2 separate regions of the Homo sapiens genome follow, and region 2 is linked to region 1. Evidence: promoter capture Hi-C in 16 types of primary human blood cells and fetal thymus (Javierre and others, 2016). All regions are on one chromosome and are shown on one strand. Each heading gives the region's core, a stretch centred on a gene start or on the middle of the fragment in contact. The rest is flanking DNA. Distances are from core to core; before and after follow the strand shown. Region 1 holds the start of MTHFD1 (methylenetetrahydrofolate dehydrogenase, cyclohydrolase and formyltetrahydrofolate synthetase 1). Region 2 overlaps ZBTB25 (zinc finger and BTB domain containing 25).

What was found. The method cuts DNA at HindIII sites, captures the fragments that hold promoters and counts their contacts. A CHiCAGO score of 5 or more calls a contact.
Region 2: a contact is called between a fragment that was not itself captured here and the fragment with the promoter of MTHFD1 in region 1, in 1 of 17 cell types (fetal thymus). The highest score is 6.3, in fetal thymus.

The regions. Positions count from the first base shown.
Region 1 is chr14:64,386,555-64,390,111 of GRCh38, forward strand. It overlaps MTHFD1 (methylenetetrahydrofolate dehydrogenase, cyclohydrolase and formyltetrahydrofolate synthetase 1), which reads left to right and starts at 1,799. Exons shown (of 28, transcript NM_005956.4): 1 at 1,799-1,914. The coding sequence starts at 1,874. RefSeq lists enhancers at 862-961, 982-1,041, 1,562-1,651. The HindIII fragment of the contact is 3,471 bases long and covers 1,116-3,557 here.
Region 2 is chr14:64,498,237-64,501,793 of GRCh38, forward strand. The region is part of intron 1 of ZBTB25 (zinc finger and BTB domain containing 25); the gene reads right to left. Among named protein-coding and RNA genes, the nearest start is that of ZBTB25, 3.8 kb to the right of the region's middle. The HindIII fragment of the contact is 2,399 bases long and covers 716-3,114 here.

The DNA.
Region 1 (3,557 bases), core at 549-3,048:
AAATAGAAAAATTAGCCGGCGTGGTGGCATGCACCTGTGGTCCAAGCTACTCGGGGGGCTGAGGTGGGAGGATCATTTGAACCCGGGAGGCAGAGGCTACAAAGAGCGGAGATCATGCCACTGCACTCCACCCTGAGCGACATAGCGAGACTCCGTCTCAAAAACAAAAAAACATATATTAGAAATAATTACCAGAAATAGAAAATCACAAGAGATTATCTAATCCCGTATATGGGGCTACTATAAATAACCTCAGAATTTAGAAATAAGAAAAAAATATTAAAAGCCCCAAAATTAATAAAAAATCAGTTTTAGGCCAGGTGCGGTGGCTCACGCCTGTAATCCCAGCACTCTGGGAGGCCGAGGCGGGTGGATCACGAGGTCAGGAGTTCAAGACCAGCCTAGCCAAGATGGTGAAACCCCGTCTCTACTAAAAATACAAAAATTAGCCGGGCGTGGTGGCGGGCTAATTAGGTGGTGCCTGTAATCCCAGCTACTCGGGAGGCTGAGGCAGAGAACTGCTTGAACCCGGGAAGCGGAGGTTGCAGTGAGCCAAAATCGTGCCACTGCACTCCAGCCTGGGCGACAGAATGAGACTCCGTCTCAAACAAACAAACAAAAAAAGTTTTAGATGAGCTCTGCCAGTAGTAAACGGCTTGTAAAAGAAACCCGGTATCTGGTCAAGTCCTAAGTGACCTGAACCACGCATCTTCAGGACTCTACTGGGATGACTGTAACCTGAACGCGGTTCCTAGAGCAGAGCAAGCATATTCCTTGGACTCAGTAACACAAGGGGCCAGTCCTCTCCAGCATCCCAGCTGCCACCGCCCTGTCAGGCTCCCCAGGCAATTGTCCATCTTACTCCTTCTCCAGCGTGGACGCTTAAGGGGAGGGAGCATCCCTCCTCGAGGGTCAACTGGCATGTAGCTTACGAAGACCGCGTGAGTTCTCCAACCCCAGACTTGCTGCGGGGCGGGGACGTGGGGGTGACAAAATCCAGACTACGACCCTCCATGAGCCCTGGCAACCCCGGGGTGACCCCAACACCGATGAGGCCACGCGCGCTCCAGCTCTGACACTCCTTCCAGATCGGCGGGGCCTGAAACAGCGGGCTAAGCTTCACCTACGGCTGAGCGTCAGATTCAGCTGAGGAGATTCTAAAAGCGCTATGCTGGGCCCAGACCCAGGCCCTCCAGAGCAGAACGCGGAGGGGCCCGACCCCAGTCTGGTGGCGTAGGTGTGTGACAAAGTATGAGGGCGCGCCAAGCTCTCCAGTTCCACATCTGCTGTCGAGTCCAGCGCCTGCCACGCTCCCGTGCGGGGACCCGCCCAAAACTCCCTGGAAGCCAGGCGATTCAGACCCCGCCACCGCGTCCCCAGAGACTGGGCGGAAACCGGAGACTCGCCTCCCGAACCCGCGAAACTATCTCCCGCGAGACTGCCCCGCCCCAACCCCGCCCCGCAACTCTACTCCCTGATTGGCTGGAATTACGGCCGGATTCCGGAGTCCTTTCCAGCTCCCTCTTCGGCCGGGTTTCCCGCCGAATACAAAGGCGCACTGTGAACTGGCTCTTTCTTTCCGCCAATCATTTCCGCCAGCCATTCATCACCGATTTTCTTCATCTTCCCCTCCCTCTTCCGTCCCGCAGTCCCCGACCTGTTAGCTCTCGGTTAGTTAAGGGACTCGGGTCCTTCCGAACTGCGCATGCGCCACCGCGTCTGCAGGGGGAGAAGCGGGCAGGGGCGCAGGCGCAGTAGTGTGATCCCCTGGCCAGTCCCTAAGCACGTGGGTTGGGTTGTCCTGCTTGGCTGCGGAGGGAGTGGAACCTCGATATTGGTGGTGTCCATCGTGGGCAGCGGACTAATAAAGGCCATGGCGCCAGCAGAAATCCTGAACGGGAAGGAGATCTCCGCGTAAGCACCTGACATTGTTGTTGAGTGTGGGGCTGTGGACGAGGGCTCTGAGGGTGTGCAGGTCCCCCGGACCCATTTTTTGCGGGAGGGACACTTGTAGCGGAAGAGTTAGGCCCATAACACCTGAAGACCTGCAGCCAAAGAAAGAGAACCCGGGCACAACCTGCGTTTGCAAGTGGACTGCCTAGTGGCTGTAGCCGCTGGCTCCTGTGCTTCGGGGAAAAGTCCTGTGCCGACTATGCTCCCAAACGCGCAGCTGCTGGTGACTTTCTGCCGGGAGAGTGGGTAGTTGCGGCTTCCTGGAGCCCCCCTAGTCAGAACTCAGAAATCCAATCTACTTAATTCCCGTTAATTTGGAGGTGAGTAGATGGAGACTAGTGAGGTGACAAGGCTTGACAAGACTACAAGGCTGATAATGACAGAGGGTCCTTCCAGCTCATAGCTTTTCCCACTATACCATAGTCTTATCATACGCTAAGTGAAATCTAATACATTTTTCCTTTCTCTTCAATCTCGTGCTTCTCTCTAACAGCCATCTCTCTGCCCTGGTCCTAGAGTTACTTGAAACGTAATTTGGCTCCTGAGTCCTGAGAATATTCTGCATTCCACTTGACCTCTGCCTGTTCTACCCTTGCGGGACATCTGAATGCTTAATTAGTGGGTATCGTTGCCAGCTTTACTCCCAGGAAGTAACACTGGCTGCTTTTTGTCTGGGAGGTGACTGGTGAGGAAAAATGAGAGTAGAAGGAAGAGGGAAAAATATATTCCCTCTAGTAGATGAAGGAGGGAAAGATATATTCTGTGTGACCTTACTGAGTTTGCTCTTGGGACCTTTCACATCACCCGTTATGTAAGTAACTGTTGCCAGCCACAGCAGTTACTAAATTGTAATTGTCCTGTAACTCCTAACTTTGTAATAGGTTTTTGAGTGAATTACAAAGTCATCGGTGGTGAAAAGTCCGGGCCCAGTGGCTCATGCCTGTAATCCCAGCACTTTGGGAGGCCGAGGTGGGTGGATCACCTGAGGTCTGGAGTTCAAGACCAGCCTATCCAAAATGGTGAAACCCCATCTCTACTAAAAATACAAAAAATTAGCCGAGTGTGGTGGCAGGCATCTGTAATCCCAGCTACTTGGGAGGCTGAGGCAGGAGAATCACTTGAACCTGGGGGGCAGAGGTTGCAGTGAGCTGAGATGCGCCATTGCACTCCAGCCTGGGCAACAAGAGCGAAACTCCGTCTAAGAAAAAAAAAAAAAGAAATCACAATACTTACTGCTTAGTGCTTTTCAACATGTGGCTTGCTAAACTGTATTTCTGCTTTACTTTCTGTTTTTGTTTGCTTGTATTCAAACTTACTTCCTTTTCCAGTGGCTTTTTGTTTTAATATAAAAATCTTCCTTTTAGAAAGACTGATTGTGAAGAGATAATTTAGTGCATAATAATAGTGCAGATAATTTAGTACAATAATAATGCATCTGGGCCAGTACTGAGAATAGGTGCTCACTGAATATACTTTCGTTAATTGGAGAGCAAATTAAATATGTTTATCAACTCCATAAGGGCAAATACATGTATTGTCTTATTTTTGTCTATATCCTAAACACCTGGAAACCCTGTTTCCTGCCTTACTACTTGTGTGGTTTT
Region 2 (3,557 bases), core at 665-3,164, 110 kb after region 1:
TATTGATGTCTGAGTCCCAACCCAGGCTTAGCCCAAACAGAATTGAATTGCTAGGGGTGAGGCACAGATTCTTTTTTTTTTTTTTTTGAGACAGAGTCTCGCTCTGTCGCCCAGGCTGCAGGCTGGAGTGCAATGGCGCGATCTCGGCTCAATGCAACCTCCGCCTCCTGGGTTCAAGTGCTTCTCCCGGACTCAGCCTCCTGAGTAGCTGGGATTACAGGTGCCCATCACGCCTGGCTAATTTTTATATTTTTAGTAGAGATGGGGTTTCGCCACGTTGGCCAGGCTGGTCTTGAACTCCTGACCTCAGGCGATCCGCCTGCCTTGGCCTCCCAAAGTGCTGGGATTACAGGCGTAGGCCACTGTTCCCGGCCAGATTGTTTATTTGTTTATTTATTTTTATTTTTATTTTTTTGAGACAGAGTCTCACTCTGTTGCCCAGGCTGGAGTGCAGTGGCACGATCTCGGCTCACTGCAAGCTCCGCCTCCCGGGTTCGCGCCATTCTCCTGCCTCAGCCTCCCGAGTAGCTGGGACTACAGGCGCCCACCACCACACCCAGCTAATTTTTTTGTATTTTTAGTCGAGACGGGGTTTCACTGTGTTAGCCAGGATGGTCTCGATTTCCTGACCTCATGATCCACCCGCCTCGGCCTCCCAAAGTGCTGTGATTACAGGCGTGAGCCACCGCGCCCAGCCCAGATTCTTTTTTTAAAAAGCTTCCCAGGTGATTCTAACGTGACTGCTCAGTTAAGAACCACTGCCTCAGAAGAACACGGGACCAAGGAAACCCAAGAAATTATTTCACACTCTACAATTACATTGATATTTAAGAGACAATAAAAACTTTCTTTACTTTCTAGATTGTATAACTCTGGATTAGTTCAAACTAAGTAAGATAGAACAACTTTATACTAGTCTCTATAAATAAACAATTCCGTAAGAGTGTTCAAAGTATGGAAATTATGTTGACTACATTAAATGAACAAATATAAACAACTGTAATTCTAATTGTAACCTTAAAATATTGGCCAGATTAAGAAACAAAAGTGCTCCATGGCCAGGCATGGTGGCTCGCTCCCAGCACTTTGGGAGGCCGAGGCAGGTGGATTACCTGAGGTCGGGAGTTCGAGACCAGCCTGACCAACATGAAGAAACCCCGTCTCTACTAAAAATACAAAATTAGCCAGGTGTGGTGGCACATACCTATAATCCCGGCTACTCGGGAGGCTGAGGCGGGAGAATCGCTTGAACCCAGGAGGCAGAGGTTGTGGTGAGCTGAGATTGTGTCATTGCACTCCAGTCTGGGCAACAAGAGTGAAACTCCATCTCAAAAAAAAAAAGAAAAAGAAAAAAAAGAATCAAAAGTGCTCCTAAACTGGCAGGATGGGCATGGGTGGGGGGGTGGAGGAACACACTATTTTCAGACTTCTTTTCAAATAGTATTTAGGAAAAAGAAATATTTACTCTCTTACTCCATTACACCTAGATTGGATTTCATAACACCTAAAAATGATACAGAAATTCTAAATCTGAAAATACTGTTTGAGGTAAAATCTGCTGTAATTCCAGACATCTGCTTATTAAGATCTACTGAGAATGTTAGCAAAGAGGGTATGGAGGGGGTAGATGAAACAGGAAGAGTAGTTATGCTCTAGAAACCTTTAATGGAACTGGGAAACGTTAGTTTGGGGCCTCCTGCCTGTTGGCAGACATAGCCAACCTCCAAGCACCTCTAATTCCCATCTAACCAACATTACATTGTAGGATGCCTGATAAAGCCAAGCACACAAGAATACTAACAACAGTAAGCACAAATTGTTAATAGACCTTTAAAAAAAATCAGAACCCGGAGAAAGAAAGGAAAAGATTCCTCTCAGTCCATTAAAGACAAACCAAATTTCTAAAAGAAAAAATAAGGTACTCAAAGGACAGGAGAAAGATGGAAAATTATAATGCTAGTACAGACCTAGAATACAGTACAGGCAAGAGTAACTAAAACTTCTGGATACAAGTAAACCAATACTTCTTTCGCAATGGAAGTATACTCCCATGAACACACTACTCAAGTGGGCTAATAAAAACCTTTGCTTAAAGTGCTTGGAGATTTCAGAAAAAATAAAACATCCATGCATGACTGATTTGTAACCAGAGAAGAAATGAATTAGAAAAATATAAAAAATAACTGAACACTCTAAGCACTTTTTCTCCCAATAAAGCAAAAAAAAAAAAAAAAAAAAAAGAGAGAGAGAGAGAAAGAAAATTCCTGCTAGCAAAGGGAAAGCAGAACGGTAAATAAATGCCTATAATCCCAGCACTTTAGGAGGCCGAGGAGGGTGGATCACCTGAGGTCAGAGTTCAAGACCAGCCTGGCCAATATGGTGAAACCGTCTCTACTAAAAATACAAAAATTAGTTGGGCGTGGTGGCAGACGTCTGTAATCCCAGCTACTTGGGAGGCTGAGGCAGAAGAATTGCCAATAAGGGGGAAAAACTCAAATGTCCATGGATAGTCAAATGGATAAAGAAAACATGGACCAGGCACAGTGGCTCACACCTATAATCCCAGCACTTTGGGAGGCCAAGGTGGGCGGATCACTTGAGGTCAGGAGTTCAAGACCCGCCTGGCCAACATGGCGAAACCCTGTCTCTACTAAAAATACAAAAATTAGCCAGGTGTGGTGGCAGGCGCCTGTAATCCCAGCTACTCGGGAGGCTGAAGCCAGAGAATCGCTTGAATGCAGGAGGCGGAGGCTGCAGTGAGCTGAAATTACACCACTGCACTCCAGCCTGGGTGACAGAGGTAGACTCTGTCTCAAAAAACAAACAAACAAAAAAAACCCCAGAAGTATAAAAAAATTTAATCAATAATCCTGAAACTGATGTTTGTTACAAACACTTTCTTCTTCCTCCTCTATCCCTAAGCAGGTTCAAGTAGCAATATCTTTCCTTTTTAGGGAGAATACTATTCTGGTTATTTTCAAAACCTATTATTATAATAAATACTATATGCGAGGCCTTGTGCTAAGTGCTCTATATACACTATCTCTTAAAATCGTCACTGTGATGACTAATGTATTATTTTCATTTCCATTTTACAAATGAGGAAAAATCCTAAGCTTAGGACACACAATCAGCAAATGGTATAAAGTGGAGATAAAAAGCCAGGTCTGTCTCCATAGCCTGTGCTAATAAACTGGAGCAATATTTTCTTAGCTTTCTCTTCTTAAAAGACTGAAGTTCACATGCTATTTGGAATAAATACACAGAAAAGGGGCACAGGAAGTGGTGCAGAAAGAAGCACTTTATAACTTATCAAGATAAGAGCACCTGCACTGCTTTTTTAAAACAAGGAAAAACCCTGCAATAATATAAAACCCCCAACTCTTTTCTGGCCCTGTTATTGCTAAAATGGACAAGTTGGTCAGGCACCACCTACGGACCATAGCAAATAAATCACTTTGGTTCAGTGGTGGGGAGGACATTATGCAACACTTCCCAGCACAGCCCTGGCCAGGATATTTTACGGCCAAGGCACCTCCTCCCCAGCTAGACAGCCT